Linked DNA regions of Homo sapiens: region 2 is linked to region 1. The links are contacts of gene promoters, found by promoter capture Hi-C in blood cells and fetal thymus (Javierre and others, 2016). All regions are on one chromosome and are shown on one strand. The core of a region is centred on a gene start or on the middle of the fragment in contact, and the rest is flanking DNA. Distances in the headings are between cores, read along the strand shown.

Region 1 (7,714 bases), core at 3,699-6,198:
CTCTCTGTCACCCAGGCTGGAGTACAGTGGCATGATAACAGCTCCCTGCAGCCTCGACCTCCCTGGCTCAAGTGATCTTCCCACCTCAGCCTCCTGAGTAGCTGGGACTACAGGCATGCACCACCACGCCCGGCTAATATTTGTATATTTTTGTAGAGACAGAGTTTCATCATGTTGCCCAGGCTAGTCTTGAACTCCTGGGCTCAAGTGCTCCACCTGAATTGGCCTTCCAAATTACAGGCATAGCCACCACAGTGAGCCCTTTTTTTTTTTTAATAAATTTAACAAAGAAAAGAAATAGCTACAAGTAAATATTTACTTTTTTTTTTCATATTGAAGATTGGCTGATCTTAGCCTTTCTAAGTCCTTAATAAATGCCTGTTTACACAACTGGTGTCTTCCCCTAAACCTAAACTTCAAACTTCAAACTCCAAACTCCACCGATTTGGATAGTATTAGAAATGGCATTCATATTAATGGTTATAGTACATTTTTTTACATGTGAATGCAAATGGAATTGTTAGGCATTAAAAAAGAAAGCTTATATAGTGGAAGAAAATAAAGCATCTAGACATAAGCTTTAAGAGATCTATTGTGTTAATACAGCTTTACTTTTTGAGTGGTAAGCTTTTAAAAAGAAATGTGGTGCTCTAACTCCAGGAAAAGATAAGGGTGACTGAAGTGATAGTCTAGAGGAAAAAGATGCAGACATTTACTGAGTACCTCCAATGTGCCAGGTGCCATTCTGGGCATTTTCATTATGTTTCCTCATTTAATTCTCATGGTGATCCTTTGGAACTGTGTTATTCTCATTTTTACAGATGAGGTAACTGAGAGACAGTCAGATTAAAGAACTGCCTATGATTGTTTGGCTAATAATAAGTGGAGGGGTGAGGCTTGAAGGCAGGTTTGTCTTATTCCAACACCCATACATACCCTTAAATTTAAGTTATTCTGACTTGTGTTGCTCAAATCCAATGTGTTCAGCTGTTTGCTTCTCCAATTACCAAGATTTTTCTTTAAAAGGTAGGACACTTTTGGCAACACGAACCAACTTTGCTCAGTATTGTTATAAACTGTTAACTGGAGACATTTGAATTTGGAGATGGAACTGAAATGGTCTTGCGGTACTAGAGAAGATCAAGTTATCACATAAACAAAGTACAGAGCTGAGAACATATTTTAAATCTTTCCACTAACTCTGACTTTTATTGACTAAAATTTTAGTGGGCAGTATGTTTATGTTTATGACTCTTAACATTAACAACATCGTAAGTCAAACTCACTAATATATGTTAAGCATTCTGTTTATGATTCTTTTAACCTAGAGGATTGTTGAGCTGGGACTAATTTCCTCAAATGGGAAAAAAACCCAGGTGAGAGCTGAGACTGCTCCTGAGACTGAGAAAGGCAGCTCTGACGGGATCTCAGATTTTAGCAGCAGGAGTTGAACAATGGGCATAGAATCAGCTTGCCCAAGATCTCCTGATTAATAAACCATGGAACAAGATTTAAACCCAAGTTCATTTCATTTCAAAGCTCATACCACATTTTGCCCACCATATTTTGCTTTGTTATATGACTACAACTTAGTTCAGGCTTACAAAAAAGTCCTAATTCTAAAATTCCTATGGCGTGGGTGGGAGGGGATTTAGATGATTTTGCATAGGCAAGAAACACCCAGTTTCATGGAGTTTGATGGAAGAGTTATGTACTAATATGGGAAAAGTAGAGGCCATCTTTGTCTTTGTTCTTTCTTTTTTAGACGGGAGTCTCGCTCTTTCACCCAGGCTGGAGTGCAGTGGCGCTATCTCGGCTCACTGCAAGCTCCGCCTCCTGGGTTCACGCCATTCTCCTGCCTCAGCCTCCTGAGTAGCTGGGACTACAGGCGCCCGCCACCGCTCCCGGCTAATTTTTTATATTTTCAGTAGAGACGGGGTTTCACCGTGTTAGCTAAGATGGTTTGGATCTCCTGAACTCGTGATCCGCCCGCCTCGGACTCCCAAAGTGCTGGGATTACAGGCTTGAGCCACCGCGCCCGGCCGTCTTTGTTCTTTCTTGAACTCTTCCTTTTCTTGGGTGATAGACTTCGTCAACGTCTAATGAGGATATCTAGGTGCTAGTCTCTGCTCATCAAATGATTCTTATGGCTCAGGAGCCGAATGGGACGTAAATAAACAGTTAAGTCTCATGAACTCACTTTGCATTCATCTCTAGAAGATGACAAAACATTTGTATTTATGTGTAGCGTGGCACTTTAGTTAAACTTTGTACCCCACTTTGCTCTATTTTAAAGCAGAATATCCTTAAAAAGGATACTTAGTCCTGCTTTTTTTTTTCCGCCTAAGCCCATTTAGTCCTTCTACTCATTATGCAAGGACTCAAATGGTTATCTTTACAGAAGTGAGACAAGATAGAATCAATGCTCTTGTAGTCACTTCATCTTTGTCCATTCCCACTTCTGATGGAGAGGGTTCTAGGACATAATGCACTGAAGGTTACATTGTGAGAGATGAACAACATTTGCAAAAGAGGTCTTTTTGCCTTGGAAAGGCTTCATTCTTAAAAAAAAATGTGAGCATCAAGGTTAAGTAGACCTCATTAGCTCAAACTTTAAGGATGATATCAGGATAAAGTTGGGCCCATGAGAAGAGAATGAGAGGGAGATATAGTGACATGAAAATAAGGAGGAAAACGAGGTGTCTATGTAAGTTGGGCTCACCATAAATACAAAGGCAACCGTTAGGGAAAAGCAAAGAAGTCTTTGCACATCCTCAGAACTCTGAATGTCTTAGTGATGCTGTATGAGTGAGTCTTAATGATAGTGAACTGAATCAGTCAAGCCAGGTTGTGTCCATATGAGAATGTGTCTTTGCTAAACATGCCAACATCACTGAAGCAAAGAAACTTGGAGTTTTCTTTAAGATATAGGTCTTTTTTACCTATCCGGCCCAAGCTTTCTCTTCTTGTCACTCCATGCACTGTGTTCCGTATGCTAAATAGTTTGAGAAACCCAAATGGGCCATGTTCGCCTACATTTCATTGTCCTGTACTTCCTGTCCTGTACTAGCAAAGCAGTCCCATTGGTCTTTCTTCTCCTCATTAACAATAAAGGTAACACTTTTGATGTTGTTTCTTCAGAAAACCTTCATTCATCAAAACTGCCTCAAAGATCATGTTTGTTTGATTCCAGAACTTCCTGTAATTACCTGTTATTGTAACACTCATCACTGTATTTTACTTACTTGTGTAACTAATTTTCCATATTCTGCACTAGACAACAAAGTCCTTTAAGTCAGGTACTATATCTATTTACATAGCATTCACATCTCCTACAATAAGGGACATTAGCAGATAAACAACACATATTAAATGAATAATGAAGTTTCTGAAATACTACAGTTGAAAACTATAGGAGCTACATTATATAGAATAAACATTTACTTTGCTATAGAATTCAGTGTAACCCAGGCATTATTTTATCCTCAAGTCTTAGGTTGGTTGGAGAAAGATAACAAAAAGAAACATGATTGTGCAGAAACAGACAAACCTTTTTGGAAAGCATTTGAAAATGGCATTCCCCCTCCACAGTGTGTTCACAGTGTGGGCAAATTCACTGCTCTGTCGTACTTTCTGAAAATGAAGAACTGTTACACCAAGGTGAATTATTTATAAATTATGTACTTGCCCAGAAGCGAACAGACTTTTACTATCATAAGAACCCTTCCTTGGTGCTCTTTATCTACAGAATCCAAGACCTTTCAAGAAAGGTCTTGGATTCTTTTCTTCAGGACACTAGGACATAAAGCCACCTTTTTATGATTTGTTGAAATTTCTCACTCCATCCCTTTTGCTAGTGATCATGGGTCCTCAGAGGTCAGACTTGGTGTCCTTGGATAAAGAGCATGAAGCAACAGTGGCTGAACCAGAGTTGGAACCCAGATGCTCTTTCCACTAAGCATACAACTTTCCATTAGATAACACCTCCCTCCCACCCCAACCAAGCAGCTCCAGTGCACCACTTTCTGGAGCATAAACATACCTTAACTTTACAACTTGAGTGGCCTTGAATACTGTTCCTATCTGGAATGTGCTGTTCTCTTTCATCTTCCTCTATTGAAGCCCTCCTATTCCTCAATGCCTTGCTCCAACTGCCTTTGGAAGATTCTGCTCTTATGCCTCCACTGGAATTAATGTCTTAGTACCACTTGTCTATTCTGCTATATAGTCAGTCCTTACATTGCTTTCTTCTTCTGATAGACCAAACTCTTTAAGGACAAGTACCTAGTCTTATCTATTTCTAGATCCCCCACATTACTCAGAAAGTTACTCCATAAATGTTTGTGGAACTGATTTCTATGTGAAGCACATGTGCCCCTTCACTCTGTTAACATGCATTAGAAAACTAAATCTTTTGAAAAGTTGTAGTATGCCCCCTAAGAGCAGTAACAGTTCCTAGAAACTCTCTAAAATGCTTAGAAAAAGATTTATTTTAAATTACCTCCCCAATAAAATGATTGGCTGGCTTATCTTCACCATCATGATAGCATCTGTAATTAACTGAAAAAAAATAATTATGCCATTAAAAGAAAATCATCCATGATCTTGTTCTAACACCTGCCACTCTAGTACTATATCTGTCACATGGTACTATGATAAAGTTATCTAGAAATAAAAAAGCATACAATTGATAATTCACCAAATTGTGGAGCTTCAGTATTTTAAATGTATATTAAAATTAAATTATTTTAAAGATCAAAGAAAACTTTCGTCATACTCCGTATTTGATAAGGAACAAATAGGAAGTGTGATGACTCAGGTTTGCCCTGAGGGGATGGGCCATCAGTTGCAAATCGTGGAATTTCCTCTGACATAATGAAAAGATGAGGGTGCATAAGTTCTCTAGTAGGGTGATGATATAAAAAGCCACCGGAGCACTCCATAAGGCACAAACTTTCAGAGACAGCAGAGCACACAAGCTTCTAGGACAAGAGCCAGGAAGAAACCACCGGAAGGAACCATCTCACTGTGTGTAAACATGACTTCCAAGCTGGCCGTGGCTCTCTTGGCAGCCTTCCTGATTTCTGCAGCTCTGTGTGAAGGTAAGCACATCTTTCTGACCTACAGCGTTTTCCTATGTCTAAATGTGATCCTTAGATAGCAAAGCTATTCTTGATGCTTTGGTAACAAACATCCTTTTTATTCAGAAACAGAATATAATCTTAGCAGTCAATTAATGTTAAATTGAAGATTTAGAAAAAACTATATATAACACTTAGGAAAGTATAAAGTTTGATCAATATAGATATTCTGCTTTTATAATTTATACCATGTAGCATGCATATATTTAACGTAAATAAGTAATTTATAGTATGTCCTATTGAGAACCACGGTTACCTATATTATGTATTAATATTGAGTTGAGCAAGGTAACTCAGACAATTCCACTCCTTGTAGTATTTCATTGACAAGCCTCAGATTTGTCATTAATTCCTGTCTGGTTTAAAGATACCCTGATTATAGACCAGGCATGTATAACTTATTTATATATTTCTGTTAATTCTTTCTGAAGGCAATTTCTATGCTGGAGAGTCTTAGCTTGCCTACTATAAATAACACTGTGGTATCACAGAGGATTATGCAATATTGACCAGATAAAAATACCATGAAGATGTTGATATTGTACAAAAAGAACTCTAACTCTTTATATAGGAAGTCGTTCAATGTTGTCAGTTATGACTGTTTTTTAAAACAAAGAACTAACTGAGGTCAAGGGCTAGGAGAATATTCAGGAATGAGTTCACTAGAAACATGATGCCTTCCATAGTCTCCAAATAATCATATTGGAATTAGAAAGGAAGTAGCTGGCAGAGCTGTGCCTGTTGATAAAATCAATCCTTAATCACTTTTTCCCCCAACAGGTGCAGTTTTGCCAAGGAGTGCTAAAGAACTTAGATGTCAGTGCATAAAGACATACTCCAAACCTTTCCACCCCAAATTTATCAAAGAACTGAGAGTGATTGAGAGTGGACCACACTGCGCCAACACAGAAATTATGTAAGTACTTTAAAAAAGATTAGATATTTTGTTTTAGCAAACTTAAAATTAAGGAAGGTGGAAATATTTAGGAAAGTTCCAGGTGTTAGGATTACAGTAGTAAATGAAACAAAACAAAATAAAAATATTTGTCTACATGACATTTAAATATGGTAGCTTCCACAACTACTATAAATGTTATTTTGGACTTAGACTTTATGCCTGACTTAAGGAATCATGATTTGAATGCAAAAACTAAATATTAATCTGAACCATTTCTTTCTTATTTCAGTGTAAAGCTTTCTGATGGAAGAGAGCTCTGTCTGGACCCCAAGGAAAACTGGGTGCAGAGGGTTGTGGAGAAGTTTTTGAAGAGGTAAGTTATATATTTTTTAATTTAAATTTTTCATTTATCCTGAGACATATAATCCAAAGTCAGCCTATAAATTTCTTTCTGTTGCTAAAAATCGTCATTAGGTATCTGCCTTTTTGGTTAAAAAAAAAAGGAATAGCATCAATAGTGAGTTTGTTGTACTCATGACCAGAAAGACCATACATAGTTTGCCCAGGAAATTCTGGGTTTAAGCTTGTGTCCTATACTCTTAGTAAAGTTCTTTGTCACTCCCAGTAGTGTCCTATTTTAGATGATAATTTCTTTGATCTCCCTATTTATAGTTGAGAATATAGAGCATTTCTAACACATGAATGTCAAAGACTATATTGACTTTTCAAGAACCCTACTTTCCTTCTTATTAAACATAGCTCATCTTTATATTTTTAATTTTATTTTAGGGCTGAGAATTCATAAAAAAATTCATTCTCTGTGGTATCCAAGAATCAGTGAAGATGCCAGTGAAACTTCAAGCAAATCTACTTCAACACTTCATGTATTGTGTGGGTCTGTTGTAGGGTTGCCAGATGCAATACAAGATTCCTGGTTAAATTTGAATTTCAGTAAACAATGAATAGTTTTTCATTGTACCATGAAATATCCAGAACATACTTATATGTAAAGTATTATTTATTTGAATCTACAAAAAACAACAAATAATTTTTAAATATAAGGATTTTCCTAGATATTGCACGGGAGAATATACAAATAGCAAAATTGAGGCCAAGGGCCAAGAGAATATCCGAACTTTAATTTCAGGAATTGAATGGGTTTGCTAGAATGTGATATTTGAAGCATCACATAAAAATGATGGGACAATAAATTTTGCCATAAAGTCAAATTTAGCTGGAAATCCTGGATTTTTTTCTGTTAAATCTGGCAACCCTAGTCTGCTAGCCAGGATCCACAAGTCCTTGTTCCACTGTGCCTTGGTTTCTCCTTTATTTCTAAGTGGAAAAAGTATTAGCCACCATCTTACCTCACAGTGATGTTGTGAGGACATGTGGAAGCACTTTAAGTTTTTTCATCATAACATAAATTATTTTCAAGTGTAACTTATTAACCTATTTATTATTTATGTATTTATTTAAGCATCAAATATTTGTGCAAGAATTTGGAAAAATAGAAGATGAATCATTGATTGAATAGTTATAAAGATGTTATAGTAAATTTATTTTATTTTAGATATTAAATGATGTTTTATTAGATAAATTTCAATCAGGGTTTTTAGATTAAACAAACAAACAATTGGGTACCCAGTTAAATTTTCATTTCAGATAAACAACA
Region 2 (7,714 bases), core at 2,230-4,729, 52 kb after region 1:
GTAAAGTGGTTGTTGCCAAAGGCTGGAAGAATAGAGAGCTATTGTTTAATGGGCACAGAGTTTTACTTTGGGAAGATAAAAAGTGCATGGAAAATCCCCTACCTCAGGTGCTTCTTAATGTAATTGAAACATCATGCGATATTTAAAAAAATTATCTAATAAAAAGAAGTGAATAGACATACCCAAGAAATAGTGTTACAGTAACAGCTTAGTTTGCAGTCTTAGAAAACTTTCTCTTTGCTTGAATCTTGTATTTCCTAAAATACGTTCACCTCTAGGCAAAGAGTATCACCTGTCACCTGACATCTGGGAGTTCCTTCTGAAGCACTTCAGCTTCATATAGTTAAAAGCAGAGACACAGTTTCCCAGTCTGTAGCTCGCAAAGTTATCTCTCACTCAGTTTGGGAAATGAGTGGAGACAATGGGTACCAACAGAGATTGTAGCTTTATATGGGCCCACCCCAGACAGCAATTAACCTCCACATAGCCACACATACAGCAACAACATAGTCATGTTAAAAACTTCCAACAATAGGTAGCCAAATCATAGAACTGTCATTTATGAAGCTCCTATTATGTGCCAAGCAGTATACTAGGTTCTTTACATGCTAAATTTTATTTAAGGCAAAAACTACATGATATTTAAAGTAATATTCTTTAAATACCTATGAATGGATTTCACTTCTTTTTTAGAACTCAAAGTTTAAAATTTTTCTTATTGTGGTAAAATATGTATAAAATAAAATTTACCAATCTAACAATTTTCACATATATAGTTCAGCACCATTAAGTACATTCACATTGTTGTATTATTATAACCATCACCGTCACTCACACTCAGAACATTTTTATCTTTCCAAAGTAAAACTTTGCGCCCATTAAACAATAACTCTCCATTCTTCCAGCCTTTGGCAACAACCATTTTACCTTTTGTTTCTAAAATTTTGACTAATTTAGGTACCTAATATGAGGGGGATCATACAATATTTATCTTTTTATGACTGACTTATTTCATTTGGCATAAGGTCCTCAAGGTTTATCCATGTTGTAGCATACATGTGAATTTCCTTGCATTTTATGGTTAAATAATATTTCATTGTATGTATATATTACATTTTGTTTATTTATTCATCTATTCATGGACATTTGTGTTGCTTCCACCTTTTGACTATTATGAATGATGCTGCTATGAACGTGGTTGTGCAGAAGTCAAAGTTTTAATAGTTCAGGAACTGTATTTATTTGAATGCTTGTTTATAGGAGACATAAGACCCAGTGTTTCTTAGACCAGTAGAATGATCATGATTAACATTAATTGATTGTACATTTCAAAATAGCTAGAAGAGAATAATTCAAATATTCCTATTGCAAAGAAAAATAAATGTTTAAAGTGATGGATATTCTAATTACTGAGTTGATTAAATGAATATATCAAATTATCACATGTACAGCAAAAATATGTACAGCTATTATGTATCAATACAATTAATTGATTGATTTTAAAAAATCTGGCAATAAACTTCTTTCACAGATTTTTAGTGATTCCTGCATTTCTTTAAACAGTTAAGTATAAAATTAGTGGTCTCCTTTATAGCTGACACTTAAACCACTTCAATACTTAGAAACAGATAATAGCATTCTTAGGGAAAGCAAAAAGGGAATATCTGTAAATACTTAAATTGAACTTGACATATAATTTATTTTTAATCAAAATATGTTAAAATGTTATTAATGTCATGAAAACACATTATTTAAAAAACTGAGACTAAAGAAGATCTTATAATAAAAGCGTATCACTTCTTTCCACACTCAGTCCCTCAATAACAAGTATTTTTAAATGTTTTAGCTATTTTGTTCTGGTAGAGAATGCCATGTCTCTAAATATTGTGTTTGAACCAAGTTTTTAAAAAATTACTTATACATATGAAATTAACCCCTGCGGAATTTCTCTATAATGACTGATAATCCAGTCCCCTTATACTTGTCTACCACTTCTGTTCTATAATCATAATTAAGTCATCTGGACTTGTTGATATGAAATATTTGTAAATAATTAACCGCATTTACCTAACCTATGAAAATACTGTTTACTGAAGACAGAAGTATTATATGATCATAATATTTCTTCTTTTACAGGTTTTGGCTTACTTAGAGTTTTGATTTAATTTTCCAATTAAAACTATTTTATCCTTCTTTTTTTAATTTAACTATTATATTTTCCCAAAGACCAGTGATCCAGGACCCCTCAACTCAGGTTTTTCTCTGTCTATTTTATTCCCTGGTTGAACTTTTTATTTGCTGGAACATGTGTCTTCCCTCATTATAGGCTTATTTACTTGTTTTGTTGACACATATCTTCAGAGAACTTCCTAAGGAAGATTGTAAAGGAGAATTTTCTGAGCTTTCACATATCTGAAAGTGGTTTTTTCTTCTACCCTAACACATGATTGGTAGTTTTTCTGGATATAGAATTCTAGGTTGAAAATTATATTACTTCAGAGCTTCCTCTGCCTTTTAAGTGTTGCTGATGACAAAGATGATCCCAGTCTGATGATTATTCTTCATAGTGATTTGGTTTTTCCAAAAGGAAACTTTTAACTAGACTTTCTAAATTTTCTAATGATGTACTCAGCTGTGTGGGGGTGTGTGTGTGTGATTTTACAGAACACTTGCAGAACTGCTTCAGATTGAAAATTCAACCTTCAAATCAGGAAAATTCTCTATTATTTCTTTGAGAATGTCTTGCTTTCTATTTTTCTCTATTCTTTTTTCTATAACATATTAGTAATTGGTGTCATTTTCCATGTTTATTTTCATTTTTCTTATATTATCCATCTGTTATACTTATTTCTACTTTCTTAGATATTTGTTTTATGTTTCAAACTTTGTATAAAATTCACTACTTCACTTACCATATTTAAAATTCCTAAGAACTTATTTTTGTCCCCTAATTGATCCTTCCTCACAGCATTCCTTTTTTTATTATAAAATATCTTCCTTAATCTCTTTAAGAATACTAGGTTTTTAAAGTTCTCTTCCTTTTGAAATATGTTATAAGCTTAATTTTAAAACAGTTTTAGGTTTACAGAAAATTGTGAAGATGGTACAGGGTATTTTCATATACCTACCTCTGATTTTCCCCTATTAAAAGAATATTTTACATTGGCAGGGTGTATTTTGTCACAATTAATAGGACAATATTGATAACTATGACTAACTGAAGTCCCTAAATCAATGTACTGGTCATGCATTTTGTAGCATGTATCTCAATTAAGATTTATCTGAGAAATTGCTTTATGAATCTGAGTGCTCCTGTATTGGGTGCATATACATTTAGGATAGTTAGCTTTTCTTGTTGCATTGATCCCTTTACCATTATGTAATGCCCTTCTTTGTCTTTTTTGATCTTTGTTGGTTTAAAGTCTGTTTTATCAGAGACTGGGATTGCAACCCCTGCTTTTTTTTTTTTTTTTTTTTTTGCTTTCCATTTGCTTGGTAAATATTCCTCCATCCCTTTATTTTAAGCCTGTGTGTGTCTTTGCACATGAGATGGGTCTCCTGAACACAGCACACCAATGGGTCTTGATTCTTTAACCAATTTGCCAGTCTGTGTCTCTTAATTGGGGCATTTAACCCATTTAAATTTAAGGTGAATATTGTTATGTATGAATTTGATCCTCTCCTTATGATGCTAGCTGATTATTTTGCCCCTTAGTTGATGCAGTTTCTTCATAATGTTGAATGTCTTTACAATTTGGTATGTTTTTGCAGTGGCTGGTACCGGTTTTCCCTTTCCATATTTAGTGCTTCTTTTAGGAGCTCTTCTAAGGCAGGCTTGGTGGTGATGAAATCTCTCAGCATTTGCTTGTCTGTAAAGGATTTTATTTCTCCTTCACTTATGAAGCTTAGTTTGGCTGGATATGAAATTCTGGGTTGAAAATAATTTTCTTTAAGAATGTTGAGATCTACAAAAAGACTTAGACTTCCACACCATAATAGTGGGAGATTTTAATACCCCATTGTCAGTATTAGACAGACCAGCAAGACAGAAAGTTAACAAGGATATTCAGGACTTGAACTCAGCTCTGGACCAAGCAGACCTAATAGACATCTACAGAACTCTCCACCCCAAATCAACAGAATATACATTCTTCTCAGTGCCACATCGCACTGATTCTAAAATTGACCACATGATTGGAAGCAAAACACTCCTCAGCAAATGCAAAAAAATGAAAATCATAACAAACAACAGTCTCTCAGACCACAGTGCAATCAAATTAGAACTCAGGATTAAGAAACTCACTCAACTACATGGAAACTAAACAACCTGCTCCTGAGTGACTATTGGGTAAATAACGAAATTAAGGCAGAAATAAAGAAGTTATTTGAAACCAATTAGAACAAAGACACAATGTACCAGACTCTCTGGGATACAGCTAAAGTAGTGTTAAGATGGAAATTTATAGCACTAAATGCCCACAAGAGAAAGCAGAAAAGATCTAAAATTGACACCCTAATATCACAAAAGAACTAATGAAGCAAGAGCAAACAAATTCAAAAGCTAGCAGAAGACAAGAAATAACTAAGATCAGAGCAGAACTGAAGGAGATAGAGACACAAAAAACCCTTCAAAAAATCAACGAATCCAAGAGCTGGTTTTTTGAAAAGATTAAAAAAATAGATAGATTGCTATCCAGACTAATAAAGAAGAAAATAGAGAAGAATCAAACAGACAATAAAAAATGATAAAGGGGATATCACCACTGATTCCACAGAAATACAAACTACCATCAGAGCTTACTATAAACACCTCTATGCAAATAGACTAGAAAATCTAGAAGAAATGGATAAATTCCTGGACAATTACACCCTCCGAAGACTAAACCAGGAAGAAGTCAAATCCCTGAATAGACCAATAACAAGTTCTGAAATTGAGGCAGTAATTAATAGCCTACCAACCAAAAAAAGCCCAGAACCAGAAAGATTCACAGCTGAATTCTTCCAAAAGTACAAAGAGGAGCTGGTACCATTCCTTCTGAAACATCCAAACAATAGAAATTGAAGGACTCCTCCCTAACTCATCTTATGAGGCCAGGATCATCCCGATACCAAAACTTGGCAGCGACACAATGACAACAAGAAAAGAAAATTTCAGGCCAACATTCTTGATGAACATTGATGCAAAAATCCTCAATAAAATCCTGGCAAAGTGAATCCAGCAGCACATTAAAAAACTTATCCACCATGATCAAGTCAGCTTCATTCCTGGGATGCAAGGCTGGTTCAACATACTCAAATCAATAAACATAATCCATCACATAAACAGAACCAATGACAAAAACCACATGATTATCTCAATAGATGCAGAAAAGGCCTTAGATAAAATTCTACACCACTACATGCTAAAATCTCTCAATAAACTAGGTATTGATGGAACATATCTCAAAATAATACGAGCTATAGATGACAAACCCACAGCTAATATAATTCTTAATGGGCAAAACCTGTAAGCATTCCCTTTGAAAACCACACAAGACAAGGATGCCCTCTCTTACCATTCCTATTCAACATAGTATTGGAAGTTCTGGCCAGGGCAATCAGGCAAGAGAAAGAAATAAATGGTATTCAAATAGGAAGAGAGGAAGTCAAATTGTCTCTGTTTGCAGATGACATGCTTGTACATTTAGAAAACCCCATCGTCTCTGCCCAAAATCTCCTTAATCTGATAAGCAACTTCAGCAAAGTATCAGGATACAAAATCAATGTGCAAAAATCACAGGCATTCCTACACACCAATAATAGAGAACAAAATCATGAGTGAAGGCCCATTCACAATTGCTAAAAAGAGAATAAAATATCTAAGTATACAACTTACAAGGGTTGTAAAAGACCTCTTCAAAAAGAATTACAAACCACTGCTCAAGGAAATAAGAGAGAAGACAAAAAAATGGAAAAACATTCCATGCTCATGGATGGGAAGAATCAATCTCATGAAAATGGCCATATTGCCCAAAGTAATTTATAGATTCAGTGCTATCCCCATCAAGCTGCCATTGACTTTCTGTACAGAATTAGAAAAAAAAAACTACTTTAAATTTCATATGGAACCAAAAATGCACCGGTATAGCCATGACAATCCTAAGCAAAAAGAACAAAGCTGGAGGCGTCACATTACCTGACTTCAAACTATATTACAAGGCTACAGTAACCAAAACAGCATGGTACTGGTACCAAAACATATATATAGACCAATAGAACAGAACAGAGGCCTCAGAAATAATGCCACACATCTACAACCATCTGATCTTTGACAAACCTGACAAAAACAAGAAATGGGGAAAGGATTCCCTATTTAATAAATGGTGTTGGGACAACAGGCTAGCCATAGGCAGAAAACTGAAACTGGACCCCTTCCTTACACCTTATACAAAAATTAATTCAAGATGGATTAAAGACTTAAATGCAAGACCTAAAACTATAAAAACCCTTGAAGAAAACCTAGGCAATACCATTCAGGACATAGGCGTGGGCAAAAACTTCATGACTAAAACAACAAAAGCAATGGCAACAAAAGCCAAAATTGACAAATGGGATCTAATTAAACTAAAGAGCTTCTGCACAGCAAAAAAAACTATCATCAGAGTGAATGGGCAACCTACAGTATGGGAGAAAAATTTTGCAATTTATCTATCTGATAAAGGGCTAATATCTAGAAGCTACAAAAACTTAAACAAACTTACAAGAAAAAAACAAACAGCCCATCAAAAAGTGAGTGAAGGATATGAACAGACACGTCTCAAAAGAAGACATTTATGCAGCCAACAAACATATGAAAAAAAAAGCTCATTATCAGTGGTCATTAGAGAAATACAAATTAAAACCACAATGAGATACCAACTCATGCCAGTTAGAATGGTGATTATTAAAAAGTCAGGAAACAACGAGTGCTGGATAGGATGTGGAGAAATAGGATTGCTTTTACAATGTTGGTGGAAGTGTAAATTAGTTCAACCATTGCAGAAGACAGTGTGGTGATTCCTCAAGGTCTAGAACCAGAAATACCATTTGACCCAGCAATTCCATTGCTGGGTATATAACCAAAGAATTATAAATCGTTCTACTATAAATACACACGCACCCATATGTTTATTGAAACACTATTCACAATAGCAAAGACTTGGAACCAACAAAAATGCCCATCAATTATAGACTGGATAGAGAAAATGTGGCACATATACACCATGGAATACTATTTAGCCATATAAAGGATGAGTTCATGTCCTTTGCAGGGACATAGACGAAGCTGGAAACCATAATTGTCAGCAAACTAACACAGGAACAGAATACCAAACACCGCATGCTCTCACTCATAAGGGGGAGTTGAACAACGAGAACAAATGGACACAGGGAGGAGAACATCACACACGAGGGCCTGCGAGGGGTTGGGGAGCTAGGGGAGGGCTAGCATTAGGAAAAATACCTAATGTGTATGACGGGTTGATGGGTGCAGCAAACCACCATGGCACGTATATACTTGTGTAACAAACCTGCACGTTCTGCACATGTATCTGAGAACTTAAAGTATAATTCAAAAAACTTGCATAACTTTTTTTTTTTTTTTTTTTTTTTTTGAGACGGAGTCTTGCTCTGTCGCCCAGGCTGGAGTGCAGTGGCGCGATCTTCGCTCACTGCAAGCTCCGCCTCCTGGGTTCAG

The links. The method cuts DNA at HindIII sites, captures the fragments that hold promoters and counts their contacts. A CHiCAGO score of 5 or more calls a contact.
Region 2: a contact is called between a fragment that was not itself captured here and the fragment with the promoter of CXCL8 in region 1, in 1 of 17 cell types (neutrophils). The highest score is 7.9, in neutrophils.

What each region holds. Positions count from the first base shown.
Region 1 is chr4:73,735,621-73,743,334 of GRCh38, forward strand. It overlaps CXCL8 (C-X-C motif chemokine ligand 8), which reads left to right and starts at 4,949. Exons shown (of 4, transcript NM_000584.4): 1 at 4,949-5,102; 2 at 5,922-6,057; 3 at 6,329-6,412; 4 at 6,829-7,714. The coding sequence starts at 5,039. The coding sequence ends at 6,844. RefSeq lists a silencer at 3,412-3,706. The HindIII fragment of the contact is 2,023 bases long and covers 2,955-4,977 here.
Region 2 is chr4:73,789,205-73,796,918 of GRCh38, forward strand. No RefSeq gene overlaps it. Among named protein-coding and RNA genes, the nearest start is that of CXCL6, 44 kb to the right of the region's middle. The HindIII fragment of the contact is 846 bases long and covers 3,057-3,902 here.